Linked DNA regions of Homo sapiens: regions 1, 2, 4, 5 and 6 are each linked to region 3. The links are contacts of gene promoters, found by promoter capture Hi-C in blood cells and fetal thymus (Javierre and others, 2016). All regions are on one chromosome and are shown on one strand. The core of a region is centred on a gene start or on the middle of the fragment in contact, and the rest is flanking DNA. Distances in the headings are between cores, read along the strand shown.

Region 1 (2,979 bases), core at 348-2,847, 610 kb after region 3:
CTTCTGAAGAAAATTGTCGGCTGGGTGTAGTAGCTCAAGCCTATAATCCCAGCACTTTGGGAAGCTGAGGTGGGAGGATCACTTGAGGCCAGGAGTTGGAAGCCAGCCTGGGCAAAATATTGAGACCCCATCTCCATAAGAAAAACAAGAATAAGCCAGCCATGGTAACACGCACCTGCAGTCCCAGCTACTCAGGAGGCTGAGGTGGGAGGATCTCTTGAGCCCAGGAGTTCCAGGTTACAGTGAGTCATGATCGTGCCACTACACTGTAGCCTAGGCAACAGAGAAAGATTCTATATGTAAAAAGAAAAAAGAAAATTGTCTCTGACTCTTAGAAAAAAGAGCCATAAATATATCACATATCAACAACAACAAAAATACATAAAATCTTTGGAAATACAAAAAAAAAATGGGAATGCTGTTTTCCAACTTTGTTTGCCATGGCAGCTGAGATGAATGAGTATGTATATGACATTTATTTTATACGATCAAAGTGAAATGCTGCCATATTACTCCATGCAGATAATCTCTCAAGAGTGTTACCTGGAACTTGATTTCCTGGAAAGCTTTAAGGAAGGTCAAAGGTCATTCATTAAACACCATTAGACATTGTTTTTACCAGATTACAAAGAGCTTTGCAATAAGTGCAACAACTATAAGGTTACTGAATTATCCAGTTGAAGGACATTTTAATCAGTAACTAGACTCAACCATGAATCAATCTGATCTTGGTAATAAAAATGATTAAAAATACTTAATTGGGCATTTAAAATCTGACACATTCCATTGTGTAAAGACACAGAGAAGAAGATACCAATATACAAACCACACCAACCCAACCAGTTAGATGATTGAATTAGAGCAATTATATCTAATAAGAATTATAGTTACAAACTGTCAACATCTGTTGAAGACTTATGTCCTGGGCAGAGTGGTCAGGCTGAGGACTCTGAAAAACTGGTACATTTCTTACTCACAACTCTCTGAGGCAGATGTTGACATCTGCATTTAACAGTAAAGAAAATGGAGGCTTAGAGAAGGACTTGCCAAACATCTCACTATCAAAAACTGTGAGGTGTCTGAGACTTTACCCTACTTGCAAGCTAATGAGTTAGGCTGCCAGTTTCATGTGTGCTTACAAAAGACATATGATTCCTGGGTCAGAGACAAAGGACTTAATTTTCATGACATAGCAGACAGCTGTGTAAGCATCAGATACTCATCAGTTTCCCAGCTAAAGTGATCATTTTGCCCAGGACTGTTTCAACTTAACATTGAGAGTCCTGTGCAAACTGGGATGGTTGGTCACTCAAGTTCCCCTTACCTTCCAAGTCCCACGAAGTCAATGGGGATCAGTCCAGGTGGATGACACACACGCAATGGGCCTGAGAGCTAAGGAACCCCAAGCTTAGGAAACTTCCAGTCTTGTAAAAGGGCTGCTAGTAAACTCACCCAAATTTTTTCCCCAAAAATGCCATTAATTTTATGATCTAGCAAACACATCTGCTCCCTGACCTGGAAGGAGACATTGTATCTTTGAAGACTATTCACTATACAAACATCCTTGAATAGATTCTCTGATACAAAAGCTGACACAAGAAGAGCAGAAATGTGAGAAACCCATGGAGAATCATCCCCCAACACTTACCGCTAGCTAAGAAGAGGTGAGGACAGTATTCAAATCCAGCTCCCTCAGACATGAAAACCTATGTGCAATCCTGTCTCTTAAATTACTATGCTCAGATTTACAGAGTTAAGCCCCAACGAGAGTGGCTTTTCTTTTAATTGAAGCTTTGAGCTTTTGGTTATATTTTTAGAACAGATGGTACAGAAGTCCCCTCCTTATCCATGGTTTCACTTTTCATGGTTTCAGTTACTCTCAGTCAACTGCAGTCTGAAAATATTAAATGGAAAATTCCAGAAATAAATTCATAAATTTTAAGTTGTGCCCCATTCTGAGTAACGTGATGAAATCTCTGGCCGTCCCACTTCATCCCACTTGGGACATGCAACCTCCCTTTGTCCAGCATCTCCATGCTGTATTCAAGTGGCCAGTTGTCTATTAGTCACTTAGTAGCCCTCGTGGTTTTCATGTTATCACAGTGCTTGTGTTCAAGGAACCCTTATTTTACTTAGTAATGGCCCAAAACACAAAAGTGGGGATGCTGGTACAATATTATAATTGTTCTATTTTATTATTGGTTATTGTTGTTCATCTCTTACTGTACCTAATTTATTAATTAAACTTTATCATAGGTATGTATGTATTTTTTTTAAACATAGTATATATAGGATTCAGTACTATCCAAGGTTTCAGGCAACTACTCGGGATCTTGGAGCATATTCCCCTAGGATAAGGGGGACTATTGAATTGTGTCCATCTTGTATGCGCTTATGGAAAAGAAATGTGGAGGTACTGTATTGCAGAATAATACTGTCATCCAAAATACAGTTAAACGAGTCAGATGGGCTAATTGACCTCTACTTGGCTCTTCTTGCCCTGGGGGTCCGTCACTCTGCTTCCATATTGTTACTATTATTACTACTCGCTGTTTTCCATCCTCTTGCTGTGATCAATGCCTGACCCAAAATGCTATTCTTCTGCCTCATTTTTTAATTCTGGCAGGATTTCAGCAATGAGCAGTGTACTTTCAAAGCACTGCACCTTTCAACAAAGGTGCAGTGTATATTTAATACTAGAGTAATTTTAAAAACATGTTTCACTATAAAAAGAAAAGCAACTAAGATTATTGCATAGGGACTCACTTTTTATAAATTTTCATTCTTTTGCACAATGTTGACCACATCATCAAATTGTTGTGACATTTTTTAGGCAGAGTTTAAAGTCTATTTTTTCCTGGAATATTCAGATCAAATTTCCTTTTCCTTTTTTGCTTAACCCAAGGTGAGAACAGGAGCAGATATTACCGTATGTTTTTAAAAGATTATTTTGATTTCCTTTCTGGGTAGAGCTGGTTA
Region 2 (3,013 bases), core at 424-2,923, 640 kb after region 3:
GGTACAATATAATATTTTATATTTGCAATGTATCTCATGGAAAAATAGCTCCTATAAATCGGTAAGAAAAAGATAGGAAAAAGACTAGCAATCCAATTGAAAAGGACAAAAGATTTGAACAGCTTACAGAAAAGGAAATGCAAATGGCTTCTAAAACACAGAACCAAGCTCAACCTTTAATAAAACATGAGAAATGAGAATTAAAACAGTGATATACCTTTATCTATTTTGTAACTTACTGGCTGACAAAACCAAACACTTTGTAGCTCGCGTTGTTAACAGGGGTATGGAGGAACAACAACTGTCATCATGGCTGGTGAGATTCTAAACTGGTGCAACCTCTGCTAAGGGCAATTTGGCAAGATTTAACAAAATTCCAAACACGCATACTCTTAAGAACTAACAAGATCACTTTTAGGAATTTCCCCAACAGGTATGCTTGTATTTGTGCAAAATTATGTATCTAAAACTGTTAGGAGAGCAAGAACCTAAAAGAGCCAGAGTGACATCATTTGAAAATCACCTCCATCTTAGAATGAGCGAGGCACATTCCTTGCTAGTCACAACCCCATGATGCTAAGATGTTTACAGCTGAGGAAGCAGCTTGGTAATGCCTGCAAGAACAAACTCTTAGAACCACAGAAAGTCCAGATGGGCCAATACCCATAATGATAATGCTTTCAAGATAGTAACAGTTATGCTTTGATGTACTCACACACCAAATCGTCAAGGATGGTTTTCTTTACATCAGTAGAATAATAAATCTTGTCATGTTGTCTGCTCACCTGCATGTAGTCACAGTTTAGTCTTTACATAGACAAGACCCCTATATAAGAAAAACTGAAAAACAGTGTGTTTGTGCACTCACTTTCTGAGGACACCCTACTCTGTAATGGAATTGTTTCTAATAAACTTGCTTATTTCACTGAGCTCTGTGCCTCGCCTTGAATTTCTTCCTGTGCAAGATCCAAGAACCTTTTTTTGGATTCTGGATCAAGACACCTCTTTCTGGTAGCAAAAGGATATTCATTGCAGCATTGTTTGTGATAGCAGTAGATTAGAAACACATGAAATGTCCAACATTAGGGAACTGGTTAAGTAAACACAGGATGTTCATACAATAAAATGTTAAAGCAGATGTTAAAAAGAAAAACACACAGATGATATATAGAGATATAGATGTAGATGTAAATATAGATTTGGAACTTTCTCTAAAATATGTGATTAAGTGAAGAAAATAAACAAGATGTAGAGCAATGTGTACCTTAGGCTACCATTTTATAAAAAATAAAACCTGAGTGTATGTGTAGAATAACTGTGGATGAAGACACAGGAAGCTTATAACATTAGCAGTATCTTGGGAGATAATCTAGGAAGTTGGAAAATAATTGTAGGAGGGAGACTGCAGACCTTTTTATGGCTTTTGAATTTTGGGCCTTATGCAGATAAGATAACCAAGACAATAAATTAAGTAATAATTGTAAAGAACAATGATGAAGTCAGTTGACAAGGGCACAGAAAAATAGAATACATTTTCTTTATTTTTCACTTTATTGGACCACAGTTTTAGAAAATCGCCAATCTGGCATTTTCATAAAAAGAATTAACAGGCTCAAACAAATCAATGTCCATTTAGCTTTTTCTCATTTGAGCTTGTCAGATTTTAGATGTGCAAATTTCCTGGGAACAGAAAAAAAGCATTTGCTTTGACTTGCTATCTTGAAATGGGTTGTTCCTTTTCAAAAGTTGATTTCATCTGACATTGTTAAACACTTGAATTGCTGTTAGGTCATCTGTAGCCTAATTAACACTAATTGATCACTTGAATGGCAGGATTATTAATGCAGTTTAATTACTCATTAGAACATCTGAGCTTGGCCAACACCGGAGTTTTGGGGTCTGGATGGAAGGTGGGTATCTGGTAGAATCAGAACCATCTCTGTTGAATTAAATGCCTTTTATCACTGTGTGCCCTGACTTTTGGCTCATCTCTCAGAATCTGGCTTTTGAAAGCTTTGGTTGGAAAAAAAAATGCAAGCCACGCACAACTTTAATCTGGTGGGAAAACAGAGGGTCACGTTGTAATTGTCGGTTGCTATTGTGGGGAATGTAATTGGTTTGATAATAAGAAAAAATGTTTTTCAGTGAAATGCCTAAGGGAGTATGTTGTTATTCTCCTCCCCAAATCTAAGGTGTAACCTCTGCTTTTTCAGTCTTGGTTCCACTTCTCTGAGCATAAACAAGTAGCTCTCAGCCCTTCCTCCACCCACACCTGGTTTGCCAATAAAATATATATATTTTTTATTGTGTTGTTTTATACAAACGTTTAGATCTTTAAAAAATAAGTTCAAAAATTATTTTCAAATCTAAAGTCATACCTTTAATAACAAAGCAAGCCTTCTCTCACTGTTCTAACTTCCATGCTGATTTTTATCTGTTTGTAGTAAAAGCTGGAGGAATGAGAATTTCCAAAAAACAAGAAATTGGCACCTTGGAAAGACATACCAAAAAAACAGGATTCGAGAAAACAAGGTAGGGACTCTTAATTTTTCTCCATCACCTTGAGGAGTTTTGAGTGACTCTGCCTCCAGGAGTTATTTTAGGACAAACCAAGGCTCCCTATGCCTTTGGAGGCAGCCAGAGAAGGGGGCAGGAGGGGGAGGGCGTGATCCGTGGTGACTTAGGGTGAGGGGTGGGGAAAGGTAGGTGGCTACCCTCTGGAGGGATCCCTCTGAGAGGGCTCCCATCACGACCCCCACCCATTCTCCTCCTGTCTGCATCCAGCCCAGCGGCCTTGCACTTAATAGGCACAGGCCTAAATGCATCCAAACCTGACACACATCCTTTTATCCTATTTTCAGATCAGCCTTTAAAATATTGTTCCTAGGCTGGCCCTGTTTTCATAATATGCTTTCTGCTGAAGTAAATGTCCTGAATTAAAAATAAATGTCTTTTTTGTTTTAAACCCATCACTGAATTATTTAGAAAGTAATGGCCACTATATTTGGCATAG
Region 3 (3,010 bases), core at 391-2,890:
GGGAATATAATTTACTAAGTATATTAACCCAGAATGACAAACACAAAGTCCAGTAAAACTGCTATATTATAAAGGAAGTGAAAAAAACTCTAATTAGGCAAAAAGATCAAGTGATTCTTAGGGAAAGAAAACCATGTTATAGCCAGCCCTTTGACATTTTATGCTAAGAAAAGAAAATGTAAATAAAGTATCTTAGACCCAGGAAAAATTTATTTTCAACTATAAAGACGACCATCAACCTGTTATTAACATTCAAGGACCCAGAAAATATTGCTTCCATGACTAATTCCTAAATAATCTTCTGGAAAACAGGCTTCAGACAACCTAAATGACAAGAGAGAAATTGACATTAAAAACTGGCAGTATTGGTAAATATATATTTACTAATAGAATAAGATTCAATCATGGATAAAAGAGAGTGTGTATAATGTCTACACAGTCCCTCGCAATATAGATAACAAAAAGAAAAAGAATAGAAAAGGCATAATAACCCCAAATTTTATTATTTTTGTTTTTATTATATTGGTATTTTATTCTAAGACTTTTGTGTGGATAATGTAAATGAGTAATTATGTCATATTCTAACATCCGTGTGTAATTGGGCACCAGAATTGTCAGTAAGGAAAAAAGAAAATACAAAAGTAACATACAAGATATCAAGTGAAAATCCTATGGAATTTGAAGTAACAGAATAAATAAAAAAAAATTTTATCTTTAGATAATATAAGCGTATGTCTGGATTTGTTGGGTTTTTTTTGTTTGTTTTTGAGGCGGAGTCTTGTTCTCTCACCTAGGCTGGAGTGCAGTGGCACGATTTCGTCTCACTGCACCCTCTGCCTCCTGGGTTCAAGTGATTCTTGTGCCTCAGCCTACTGAATAGCTGGAATTACAGGCGCTCTCGACCACACCTTATTAATTTTCATATTTTTAGTAGAGACAGGGTTTCACCATGTTGGCCATGCTGGTCTTGAACTTCTAGCCTCAAGCGATCCACCTGCCTTGGCCTCCCAAAGTGCTGGGATTACAGGTGTGAGCCACTGCACTTGGCCTGTTTTGTATATATGTCTGTACATGTATATGTATATGTGTATGTATATGCATATGTATGGGAGTGTGTGTGTGTGTGTGTGTGTGTGTGTGTGTATTTTCTAACCATGCTCATTGAAAAGGTCTAGAATAGAAGATCAACCTAGTAGCAATGTGTATTCTTTGTCTCCAAATTTTGGTTTTGAAATACGATTTTCCAATAAAAAGAACCAAAGCTTCTCAGAGAAAAGGTTAGTTCCAGGTCAGAGCAAGAAATATTCAAAATGAGCTTAAAACATCTTGTTATGCCCGATAACAAACATGACAGATTTCAAAAAGTGGCTGCAAAAATATTTCCTATTTCACATACTTTTTTCCAATGTGACCTTGCCATCAATAAGTGGACTTTTTCTCAGCCTTTTTTAATCTGGGAGAGTTCTATGACTGCTTTGATGAAAAGAGTATGGAGGAAAAGACCCTATCCCAGTTCCAGCAGTAGATCTTAACTGGTCTAGCAGCTTGCATTTTATACCTCTTAGAATGTTTGCTCTTGGAAAATTCTATCTTGGAACCCAGCTACCATTCTATGAAAAGCCAAGCCATCTTGAGAAGTCATGTGTAGGTGGTCGGTCCCATTGACAACCTCAAATGAGCTGCCAGCCAACAACCAGCATCAACTGCCAGTCAGGTAAGTGAGTCCTCTTGGTCATTCAGCCAAGTTGAGCTTTTGGATGACTACGTCCTCAACTAGCAATTGACTACAAATTTATAATATACCCCGTGGTAGGCAGAAAATGTCTCCCAAAGATGTCAATTTCCTAATCTCCATAATCTGTGAATGTTATGTTACATGGCAAAGGGTATTCTGATCGCTAATCACCTGACCTTAAAATAGGGAGATTATTCTGAATTATCAGAGTGGGCTTAATGTGATCACAAGAGTTCTGAGCAGTGGAAGAGGGAGGCAAAAGAGGAGTGTGGAGTGCTGGGATGTCAGAAGGATTAGGCCTGCCACTGCTAGCTTTGAAGATAAAAGAAAGACAGCATGAGCTAAGGACTATAGGCAGCTTCTAGAAGCTGGAGAAGGCAAAGAAACCGATTATCTCCTAGAGCCCTGAGAAAGGAATACAGCCCTGTCAACACTGTGATTTTAGCCCAATGAGATTAAATTCTGATTTTTGACCTTCCAAAACTATAAGATAGATTTACATTGTTTAAACCATTAAATTTGTGGTAATTTGTTACAGCAGTGATAGGAAATTAATATAGGCCCCAAGTGAGAACTACCCAGTAGAGCCCAGTCGACTCATAGAAACATGAGAAATAATTTTTAAAAATGAAGTTTGAACCACTAAGTTTTACTGCATAGCAATAGATAACTGGAATAGCAAGGAAGTTACCAAGTCTATTAGGCTATCTGAATAGAATTCATAAGCCAAACTGAAAAGGTTTCCATTAGGCAAAGGGGGAATAAATGGAGCATCAATAAGGATAACACTTTAATAGAGTAAATGATCAAATACATTTAAATTCATAACTTCATAAAGATACAACAAAATTGATCACCTTTGCAGGATGTCAAAGAATAAATTCATTATTTGTAAAACTGTTAGGTTAAAAAAAAAACTCAAACACTTAGCCTACTCCTCTTATACTATCAAATACCAGAAGAGGAAAATTTTTTTCTTTATGTAATTTTTCCAGTAACAAAGGAAAGAGTGATTGAATTTGAATATATCTCTACCATGCAATCTGTAAGTAATTAATGGACTTAGGCATTGAGAATTAGTGGCAGCAAAAATTGCAAAAAGAAGTTCCATCCGATAACATGCATATCCTGCTGGGGGAACACACCACCACAATAAAGTAGCCTTGGAAAAAAGAAAAGAAGAGAACGACCTGAGTCTTATGTCTGATAAAGCCTCTGGGTCAACTACCAATTTATGGCAAACACAAAGAACAAAGGAGAGAGGAATACATTAAA
Region 4 (3,062 bases), core at 153-2,652, 590 kb after region 3:
GACCTGGTGGCTTTAAAAGAAGAGAGATTGGCCTGAGTGAGCACACTTGCTCTGTCTCACAATCTGATGCCCTCTGCCTTGTTAGGATGCAGCAAGAAGGTCCTCACCGGATGCCAGCACCATGATCTTAGACTTCCCAGCCTCTAGAACCATGAGCTAAATAAATCACCCAGTCTGTGGTATTCAGTTATAGCTACAGAAAGTGAACTAAGACAAATACCTACTGTCTTTAACCTCTATTCTGCTTTCAATATGATAAAATGGGCCACTCATGAACCTCAGCTACACAATCATAAAAGCTAACAGACAAATTGAATGATTATTTTTTTAATGACAAGTAAAAGGAACTACTATCCTAACACAAACATGCAACTAAAGTGGACATCTGATGCTTTGTCTGCCCAGCACTCCTCTTCCTGCGAAGAACTGCACCCATCCTATGTCATTCCCACAGGGATAGTCATTCACAATGCTGCATCAGTGTTGCACACCTACCTATCCACGGGGGTGGATGTGTGACCCAGAAGTTGACCGGTCTGGTACCCACCTATTTTAGCTTTATGTGCCAGGCATCAAGCTGAACGTGAGGGATACCGACATGAAGAAGATGCAGTCCCTTCCTTCCGGTTACCAGCAGTCTGGAAACTGGGACTACTGCAGAGTCCAAGGTATTAGCAAACCATGCAATACAGGGTGATAAGTACATGCTGAAGCACTGAGCAAAGTGTTGTGAAAATACAGAGAGCAGGTAAAGACTGAAGAAAGGAGTTCGTATTTCAGCAGAATCTTAAAAAGAAGTTCCATATGAGCAATCAGCATGTGCAAAAACAAGGATTTTTGAAACAGGGCTTGTGGCCTGGTGGGTACACTGGAACCCCACTAGAGGGTGAGATTAAGGGGAATGGTGGGGAGCAAGATTGCAGGACGGAGTGAATGACATGAAAAGATCGAGTCCAGCCAAGGAGTTGCATTGAATCCTAGGCAACAAGGAGCTAATGTAGGTTTCTGAGCAGAGAAGAGTTAAAAGCAGATTTGTAATTTAATACAATCCCTCTGGAGGTTAAATGGGATCATTAAATGATGAACCCTTGGATGGTAGGAGTGTCTTTGGTATGCAGTAGTGTTGATAAACATTTATTGGGAAATGATGACAGTCTCAACAGAGGCAGTAGCAGAGGGGATAGAAAAAACGGAGCAATTTTGAAAGACATTTTTGAGCTAGAACCAACAGAACTTATCCAACAATTAGGAAGGAAAGGCAAGAATTAAGAATGTTTTAGCAGTTTCTCTCTTAAGTGATAAAATGGATGGAAATAAGAACTAGGTGAAGATAATAGTCGTGCTTTTGAACATATTAGATTTGAGAGGCCTGGGAATCCAGGGAACGAAGTAGGTCTGACAGGTAAGGAATTTAAGAACGTCTGGGGCAAAAGATAGGAAGGTCTAGAAGTCACCATCACAGAGATGCAGTTTACAAGAGAGGGTGTTAGTCAAGAGAATTAACCTCCGAAATGCTAGAAATTGTTCAAATTATGACTTTCCGAAGGAATATGTCAGGCTCAAGTTCCTTTATAATTGTTACATACAAGATCAAAGCTCCCCCACCTACACCCACATTCCCTACACCCCTAAAATAGAATTGGCAAAATGCCTCCACACCACAGGTAGGGATTAAAAAAAAAAAAAAACAAGACTCCAGCTATTTGACTCCCTTAGCATGTCTGGGCCACCAACAAATCATAAGCTGTTGGAGACTCTGCCTGGCAACCAATGCTGGACCATTCATAAGGAGAAATGGCATCAGCATCCACTAAACCAGACAGTCTTTGAAGTACTTCTGCCAAACCCAGGGTAACTACTGAGCCAGGAGGCCTTCTGGTCTTTTCATTTCCCTGCCAAACTGGCCACGTGCTGACTCTCCCTTGCCAGGAGTTCATGCCTGCACCTCCATGGGTACCTGATAAGATGCCACAGTCCTTGTCATGGGCATATGCATGGGGGCTGGGGGGTCAGGTGAGAGGAGGCAGCAGTGGCCAGGGAGCTGGCAGCCTGGGGTCAGTTGTACCAGTGATTCTCAGCTAAACTTGGCTTAGTGGAGCCACAGAACTTTGTCTGAATATGTACCTATCAGAAAGCCGATGACTTTTCTTGTTATACTTTTTCTTTAAAAATGAAACAAAACTGAATTAACATAGAAAGATCTAACTGATATGATAATTGATAAAGGCACATGGTATAGCTGTATGCACAATATGATCTATTTGGGTTTTTTTCCTAAGTGTATGTGAAGGTGTGTGTGTGTGCGCCTGTGCGTACGTAGAACTTATCTGAAAGGATACATACCCAGCACTGGGGAGCTGGGATGGGGAGGGGGAATGGGGAGCTTCTACATTTCACCTTTCTCTATCGTTTGCGTTTGCTTTTTTTTCTTTTTTTTACAAGAAACTTGTTAATTTTCATGTAAAATTTTTTCAAAAGGCACCAGACATTTTAATCAATCATAGAAGGGCAGCTCAATACTTAATAGATTTCTAAGGTCTGTGTGTGAACATGCATTGCTTAACAGCGTGGTTTTCAAGTAGATGCCTCCTAACCAAGTCAGCACAAGTTCCTAATGACTGACTGAGCAAGAGCGTGGCTTCCTGAAGGCAGAGTCCCTCCCTCCCCCTTCCCTCACTTCCAGCCATCCCAGGTCAGGTAAGAACCTGTCTGGAGAATGTGTGTAGGAGAAAGGAGGCTCCACAATGGTGAATAGGAGAGTCACTGGCTGCAAAGACGCTTGTGAAACAAGGCCAGGCCTTGGATTACTACCTTCATGTTCATGGGGATGCGACAGTCTTTGCCCAGACTAACCCAGGTTTGTCACACCCACACTAAGCTAGCGTGGAATCAGTAACTAGGTCAATAATCAGCTCTAAAGCTGGCTTATCCCAGGGTTGAAGGCAGGTGGATCCCTGTGTTGAGCTGGCTTCTTTCCTTGGGTGAGAGGTGGGTTCCTGACTGGTTGAGGTGCCCTCTCTGCCAAGCTGGGAAAGGCCATCAGGAGCATAAATCCTGAGAGC
Region 5 (2,983 bases), core at 11-2,510, 550 kb after region 3:
CTCCCCCACTGGCCAGGTCCCAGTGAAGCTTTTGCCCCTACCCCCTGAGTGCCAGCTTCCCCTTCCTCTGACTCCTTAATGCTTTATGCCTGTTACAGAGGGGCATCAGGGGCTGGCAGAAACCAGGGGCTGATTGGAATCAGGTCCTGCCCTAACCTCCATGGTTCTCAGTATTCTTGCCTATAAAATGTGCCAATAATAGCGTCTGCTTCATAGCCTTACAGCAAAGACTAAGTGGGATGATAATGTAGATAAAATGCCTGTCATCATGTCCAGCACATAGATAATGTTCAAGAAAAATTGTCCCCATTGTCACTTCCCATTAGAATGGCATGTTTGTTGGGGCTGTCTGCCTCCACAGACTGTGAGCTCCTCAAGGGCCAGAACTATGCATTATCCACCTCTGTATCTCTGATTCTCTGTGGCTCCAAACTCTAGAACAGCAGTAGTATACAGTAGGTACCCAGGGGATCAGTTATTTATTGCCACAATAATGCTGCACAGCAAACCAAACTTAAAACCACAATTCATTTAGCCCATGATTCAGCAATCAGGCTGTTTAAGCCAAGCTCTGCCTGGGGGGTTCTTCTGGTCTCCACTGGGCCCAGCCACAGGCCATGTAGGCACTGCTTCTACTTATGGAGGTGGTGGGGAGAGATGGACCACGTGTCCGTCATCAACCAGCAGCAAGGCCTGGCAGAGTTCTTACAGGGAGAAGAGCAAAAGGCCGCGGGGCTTTTTGAAACTGGCACATTGTTACTTTCACTACATTCTATTGGCCAAAGCAAGTCACAAGGCCCGCTCAGATTTAAGGGATGGAAAAATAGACTCTGTCTCTTGATGGGAAGAGTGGTGAAGCCACGTTTAAAGGGCATGGATTCAGAGAGGGGTGGGAATTGTCACCCCTTTCTGAATTTTTGTGATCTACCACACCCAGTTTTTCATATGAAAGAGGTAAGTTAGAGAAAAATGAACGAAAAGAGCAATGAGAAGAAAAACCCAATTTATGTCCTCACAATCATGGGCAAGGACACTTAAATTCTAGGTTGCTCAATACAAGCAAGATGAAAATTGACCTCTCAAACCATTATGTAGTTGAGAGTTCTCTAAGGTACAGTAAAGAGAATATGTGCCAATCAGGGCATAAATCAAGACACTCCTTTCCTGGTGTCTTGGGAAGGCAGATGGGCCTGGATTTATCGAGGACACTCAGCCTCCTGACAGCAGTATAATTACAGACACCAGCGTCATTAATCAGCAATCCGCCAGTGACCGAGGAGTCTATAAACCTCCAACTCTCTCGGTTCCAAAATTGATTTGACTTAAAAACAATTATTTAAATTCCACATGCTTGAGCATTTGGCTTAGGAGAATGTAGGAAAAATATCAAAAAGAAAAGTTTGTGTTTTTTATTCATCTCCACCTTCAGAACATTGAAAGTTTTTATTAGCCCATCAGTAATTGGATGAACCTTCTGTTTCACACACACACCACCCACCTTCTATCAGAGAGACTCTCACCAAAGATCCTCCAGCTGTGATGTCTGAAAACTCAATTCAGTGATGAGCTAAGGGACCCACTCACCTAAAAAGGTGCTGAAAGGCACAGGCATGGAGTTAGGTGACTTCCATGGAGCCAGCTCCCTAGAGAGACTAGTCAGTTTCTGCCTATGTGTAACCATCCTTTCCAAAGGTTCTCCATCCTTCTGGACCCCCCTTTTCTTCAATACCAAATAAAATGGTATTGGTATTGAGAAAAGTCCCCATTCCTGGTGCAGGAGGTCTAGCATCCCTGAATGTATCCATGCATTTGTAGCAGTAAGAGCTCACATTCTTCTGGTCGGTCCTTGCCTAGAGTCTGCTTCCTCGCTGGACCACAATTCCTGCAATGCCCCCGTCTCCCCTTTCTTGGGATGTTCTGCTATGGCACAAAATCTCTTTTCTGCAAGGGTCTTTGTACACAAGCTACACATAACAGATTTTACTGAAGGTTTGGTGGCCAAAAGAGGGTCATTACAGCATAGACTACAAGGTAAATTCATGATCAGGCAGACATCACTTCTAGTTTTAGGCTGCCTCTGCTTCCCAGGGAGGCTTCCTCTCTGGTCCCGTCTTCCATATGTTCCAGCCTTAGGCCATGCCACTGGGCCCCATGACCCCCTCAGAGCTGCCTCTAGACGACTCTGTCATCTCCTGCTGGTCTGATCTTCTAGCTTCTCAACTCATCTACATCCTGGACACCAAAAACCTTCAACATTTCTTCATTTCCAAGAGCAATTTAGCCTTCCTTTGTTTCATCTTTACTCATCCAGCTCAGGCCCAGAACCTGATCTCTCAGCAGTAGCAGGGCTCCTGTCATTTTTCCCAAACAATAGGGCCACTCAACCTCTGGGAACAATTATCTTCCTCCCAGACCAATGAAAAAAATCGCACTCGACTTTTAAAGTAACAGATGTTTTCTCTCATCTTTCCACACTGTCTACCACGTGATTTGAAAGCTTAGAGAGACCTGCCTCACCCCCCATGCCTGACACCCCTGCCAAGAAGGTCATCTCTTCAGGTTAAGGGATTATATCCAGAAGATGCACATAACCACACATTTCATTTGGGAAGAGTAACCCACCAGGTCTCAAACTACAAGTTCTCAAACTTTAGCGCATATACCAATCTTCTGGTGCACATGTTAAAAATACAGCTTCCCTGGCCCTAACCTGACACAGCAGACAGTAGAACCTAGGAATCTGCATTTTTAAAAGTCTTTCATCTCCACCCTCCCCCAAGTGCTTCTGATGCAGGGGATCAGCTGCTCACACCTGGAGCAATTCTGTGCTTCTGCTTGATTTATAGCATGGAATGCAGGAAGGCCGAGGGTCCAATCAACATCTCAAGGTTTCCTAGGGCTGCTGTAACAAATTGCCACAAACTTAGTGGCTTACAGCAACAGAAATGTGCAGCATTGTTCATAATGACCAAAAAGTGGAAGC
Region 6 (3,111 bases), core at 49-2,548, 520 kb after region 3:
AGAAAGGAGTTGGGAAAGTGGAGCTTGGCAATTGAGTCAAAACCCCTAAAAAAGCTTTCCTTGAATCCCTGCCCATACATCTCATTGGCCATTCCTATCTATAAGAGACACTTGGAAAAGGAATCTTTACCAGGTCCTATTGCCACCTCTACTCATGTAGGTTGTGTTAGTAAGGAAAAGGAGGGGGTGGATAGGAGGAAGTCACTCTCAGTCTCTGCCCAAGATGATAGATGACCTCTGCACTTTTATTTCTTCGGTTCCTATGAATGTATGCTCCAAGCTGGAGACGTGTTGTATTATTCCCATGCTTGGGCAGAAGCCATAGTACCCAGGGCTCCTAGGCATGAAAGATAAGTAAGGTTGGATGAAACTTCTCAAGCTCAAGTTGTCCTAGAGGTAGGAGTCCTCAGCAGTCAGGCTCCATGTCATAGTGTAAAAGTTAACCACGGAAAGCCAGTAACCATCAGCAATCTATGGTCAGAAGCCCCACCCTCCTGGTAGCTTCCAATCTCCATGGGGTAGAGCCATGGGGAGTCCACAGAAGTGCGAAAGTCAAGGGGAGGGATGCCAGGTGCCTCTCCCCACTGCACCAAGAGCAGCCCACTGTGCGCTGCTTTCTATATTCCATGTCCACCTGAGATCATTTTAGCAAAGGTTATATAGCTAAAAACAAAAATAATGATAAACCATGTATGGCCAACACCTGACCTTAAAAAGTAGCTCCCTAGAGACAGCTCTGTGTGCTCCTGACTGGCAAGCCATGTAGGCTGAGGCAGCAGCTGCCTCCCTCAGCCACCCAGATGAGAGTCGCTGCGACTCACTGTATGTCTGTGGCAATCTTCCTTCAATGTTCTGGGCACTGTGGGGTAATCTGGGGCTGACACGTCTGCCATTGCCCCCAAGAATTTGTAACATTCCTGAGTCCATCGGAGCAGTTAGCAGCTACCAAGTCTGGGTTGAGCTGTCAAGGAAAGCCCAATAGAACAAGATGTACTCAAGCTAAACTTTGGGTTAACTTTAAACAAAGGAAATACATGAGAATGGTGGGATGCAGACTACAGAGAAAGCCAGGGAACGTGAGTACAGGAAGAAAGTCAAGAGGAAGAGACAAAAAAACAAAACCAAAACAAAACAAAACAAACAAACAAAAAAACAAGTTTCTCTCAGCGGTTTGGGGTGAAGATGAAAGAAATCTCAGCCTTTTGATCACTCCTAAAAATAATAATAATAATCTTTTGATGAGTATTTGCTAGGATGTAAGATATCAAGGACAGTACTGTATGCTTTAACCACATTATCCCATTTAATCTTCATAACAACCCTAAAACAATGTCCAAGAGAAAACTGTCCTCAGAACTATAAAGTGGCCCAAGGTCACCTCAATTGGGGATTGCCAGATGAATCTGTTGGATTCCAGAGACCCCATTAGCTGTTCCTGCCTCCCTAAGGAAGCAGAACAGCCGTCCCCTCCAGCCTTGATGTTTATGCTAAAGTCAACCCTTGTGACAAACCCTCTCCCAGCCAGGAATCCCCCTCCAGCTTCCTACCAGCTTCCCAGCCAAATTAGGCTCAAATAATACAAATCCATTTTAACGTTGCCTTAGCAAAGATTACTAGGAAAATAGCATGTTGGCGCAAATCAAAGTTGATGCCTTCGAAAAGAAAACTATCAAATGGCCTGTTCACAAAATATGCTCCGAGTCCAGACCTGTGACTAAACACTTCATGGAATCAAAAGAACCCAGAAGAGAGGCCCTCCCCTGTACGGGCCAATCCCACTGCACCTCCCCACCCCTCCAACCTCGCTTAGCCTCAAGGAGCAACTCTGCTGGGCAGGAGCAGGGGCAGGAGGCCAGGCAGTTCAGCTGGGAAAGGGCTGTTGCCTCAAAGGGAGGGAAGGGCCCTACCACCAAAGACCATCTCCAATAAGGACTCACTCATAGCCCTGCAAGTCTATAAAAAGGGAAGCACAGACATTCTGGAAGATGTGGAATGAAACCTTGTATCTTTGTCTTCACTGTTCACTCCTCACTCTTCTTCAGGGGCAAAGGAGGGATCATCTCATGAGACTAGGAGAAACAAAGTAAGCTCAAGGAGCCCAGCTGCCCAGCAAAGGGCCGGAGCATCTGGCCTCCCTCGCAGGGCAGACTATCCTGGCTGGTGCTGCACTGCACGGAGGCCTCAAGTTTTGGTTGGGTGAGTTCAGTTAACCCAGGTATCTATAGAAGACTGATTTTTGTTCTGGTTCAAGCTATAGTTCCCAAATCCACCTCAGGAGTGAGAAAGCTGATAGTGTTCTAATCCACGTGACCCCTGGGTGTATTCCTCTGCAGTTCTGGTCTCAGCCCTAAGGTATGTCTGGGCCTTCAGAAACCCCAGCACATCCAAACTTCTGGACCAAACTGAATCTCAATATGTGAAATAGGACTCTTTCACGGGAGTAGATAAGAAGGGGCTGTCACCAGTGCCTCAGGGCTAACACACACTGAGGGCAGAAGTCCCACCAGGTTAGCCTGGGCCAGCACCCATCACCCCAAGGGACAAAGCTTCAAGCAAGTTCTTTGGAGAACATGGCTGAACCTGAGGTTGAAGTTGGTTTTCCCACTTCTCTCCTCCCTTCCCCAGATGGAACTTCGGACAGCCAAATCCAGTGAGGTGTGAGCTAACCTCCCCACCCAGTCATGTGCTTACACATGGGAACAAAACCCAAGAGGGTGGCCAGCCTTCAGCCCAGTGCCCAGGGATGAAACATGGCCCAAGAAATAACACCACCACCATCAGCTGTCCATGCTTCCACCTCAAGCACTGAGCAAGATCCTCTGGCAAATGACCTCACTGGGAGGTAAAGAGGAAAGCGCTATTGTCAACTCCATTCTTCAGGTGAGGAAACCCAGTAAAGGGAGGTTAGAAAGCCCACCCCAAGTGACAGTGCAGTGTCAGGCTGTCACCTATCAGATCAGCAATGGCCCTCTGCTGGGGAGCACAGGGAAAGAGGGACAGGAGCTCCTCTTGGCAGCCTTGTCTCTTGGGAGAGTAAGCATGGATGCCCTATTCTTTTGTTTGTTTTTTTCTTATACTTTAAGTTCTGGGATTCATGTGCAGAATGTGCAG

Evidence for each region. The method cuts DNA at HindIII sites, captures the fragments that hold promoters and counts their contacts. A CHiCAGO score of 5 or more calls a contact.
Region 1: a fragment that was not itself captured here is called in contact with the fragment with the promoter of CCDC148-AS1 in region 3 in 5 of 17 cell types (endothelial precursors, megakaryocytes, naive CD4 T cells and 2 more); the score reaches 9.8 in endothelial precursors.
Region 2: a fragment that was not itself captured here is called in contact with the fragment with the promoter of CCDC148-AS1 in region 3 in 2 of 17 cell types (endothelial precursors and erythroblasts); the score reaches 8.5 in endothelial precursors.
Region 4: a fragment that was not itself captured here is called in contact with the fragment with the promoter of CCDC148-AS1 in region 3 in 14 of 17 cell types (endothelial precursors, naive B cells, total B cells and 11 more); the score reaches 15.0 in endothelial precursors.
Region 5: a fragment that was not itself captured here is called in contact with the fragment with the promoter of CCDC148-AS1 in region 3 in 9 of 17 cell types (endothelial precursors, naive CD8 T cells, M1 macrophages and 6 more); the score reaches 7.8 in endothelial precursors.
Region 6: a fragment that was not itself captured here is called in contact with the fragment with the promoter of CCDC148-AS1 in region 3 in 9 of 17 cell types (endothelial precursors, naive B cells, M0 macrophages and 6 more); the score reaches 9.9 in endothelial precursors.

Annotation. Positions count from the first base shown.
Region 1 is chr2:158,775,249-158,778,227 of GRCh38, forward strand. No RefSeq gene overlaps it. Among named protein-coding and RNA genes, the nearest start is that of DAPL1, 19 kb to the right of the region's middle. The HindIII fragment of the contact is 384 bases long and covers 1,406-1,789 here.
Region 2 is chr2:158,801,838-158,804,850 of GRCh38, forward strand. DAPL1 (death associated protein like 1) reads left to right here. Exons shown (of 4, transcript NM_001017920.3): 2 at 2,445-2,532. Among named protein-coding and RNA genes, the nearest start is that of DAPL1, 8.0 kb to the left of the region's middle. The HindIII fragment of the contact is 676 bases long and covers 1,336-2,011 here.
Region 3 is chr2:158,165,010-158,168,019 of GRCh38, forward strand. It overlaps CCDC148-AS1 (CCDC148 antisense RNA 1), which reads left to right and starts at 1,641. Exons shown (of 5, transcript NR_038850.1): 1 at 1,641-1,714. The HindIII fragment of the contact is 5,438 bases long and covers 1,261-3,010 here.
Region 4 is chr2:158,759,185-158,762,246 of GRCh38, forward strand. No RefSeq gene overlaps it. Among named protein-coding and RNA genes, the nearest start is that of PKP4-AS1, 26 kb to the left of the region's middle. The HindIII fragment of the contact is 3,967 bases long and covers 1-3,062 here.
Region 5 is chr2:158,718,400-158,721,382 of GRCh38, forward strand. The region is part of intron 1 of PKP4-AS1 (PKP4 antisense RNA 1); the gene reads right to left. Among named protein-coding and RNA genes, the nearest start is that of PKP4-AS1, 15 kb to the right of the region's middle. The HindIII fragment of the contact is 2,469 bases long and covers 27-2,495 here.
Region 6 is chr2:158,688,077-158,691,187 of GRCh38, forward strand. The region is part of intron 1 of PKP4-AS1 (PKP4 antisense RNA 1); the gene reads right to left. Among named protein-coding and RNA genes, the nearest start is that of PKP4-AS1, 45 kb to the right of the region's middle. The HindIII fragment of the contact is 2,492 bases long and covers 53-2,544 here.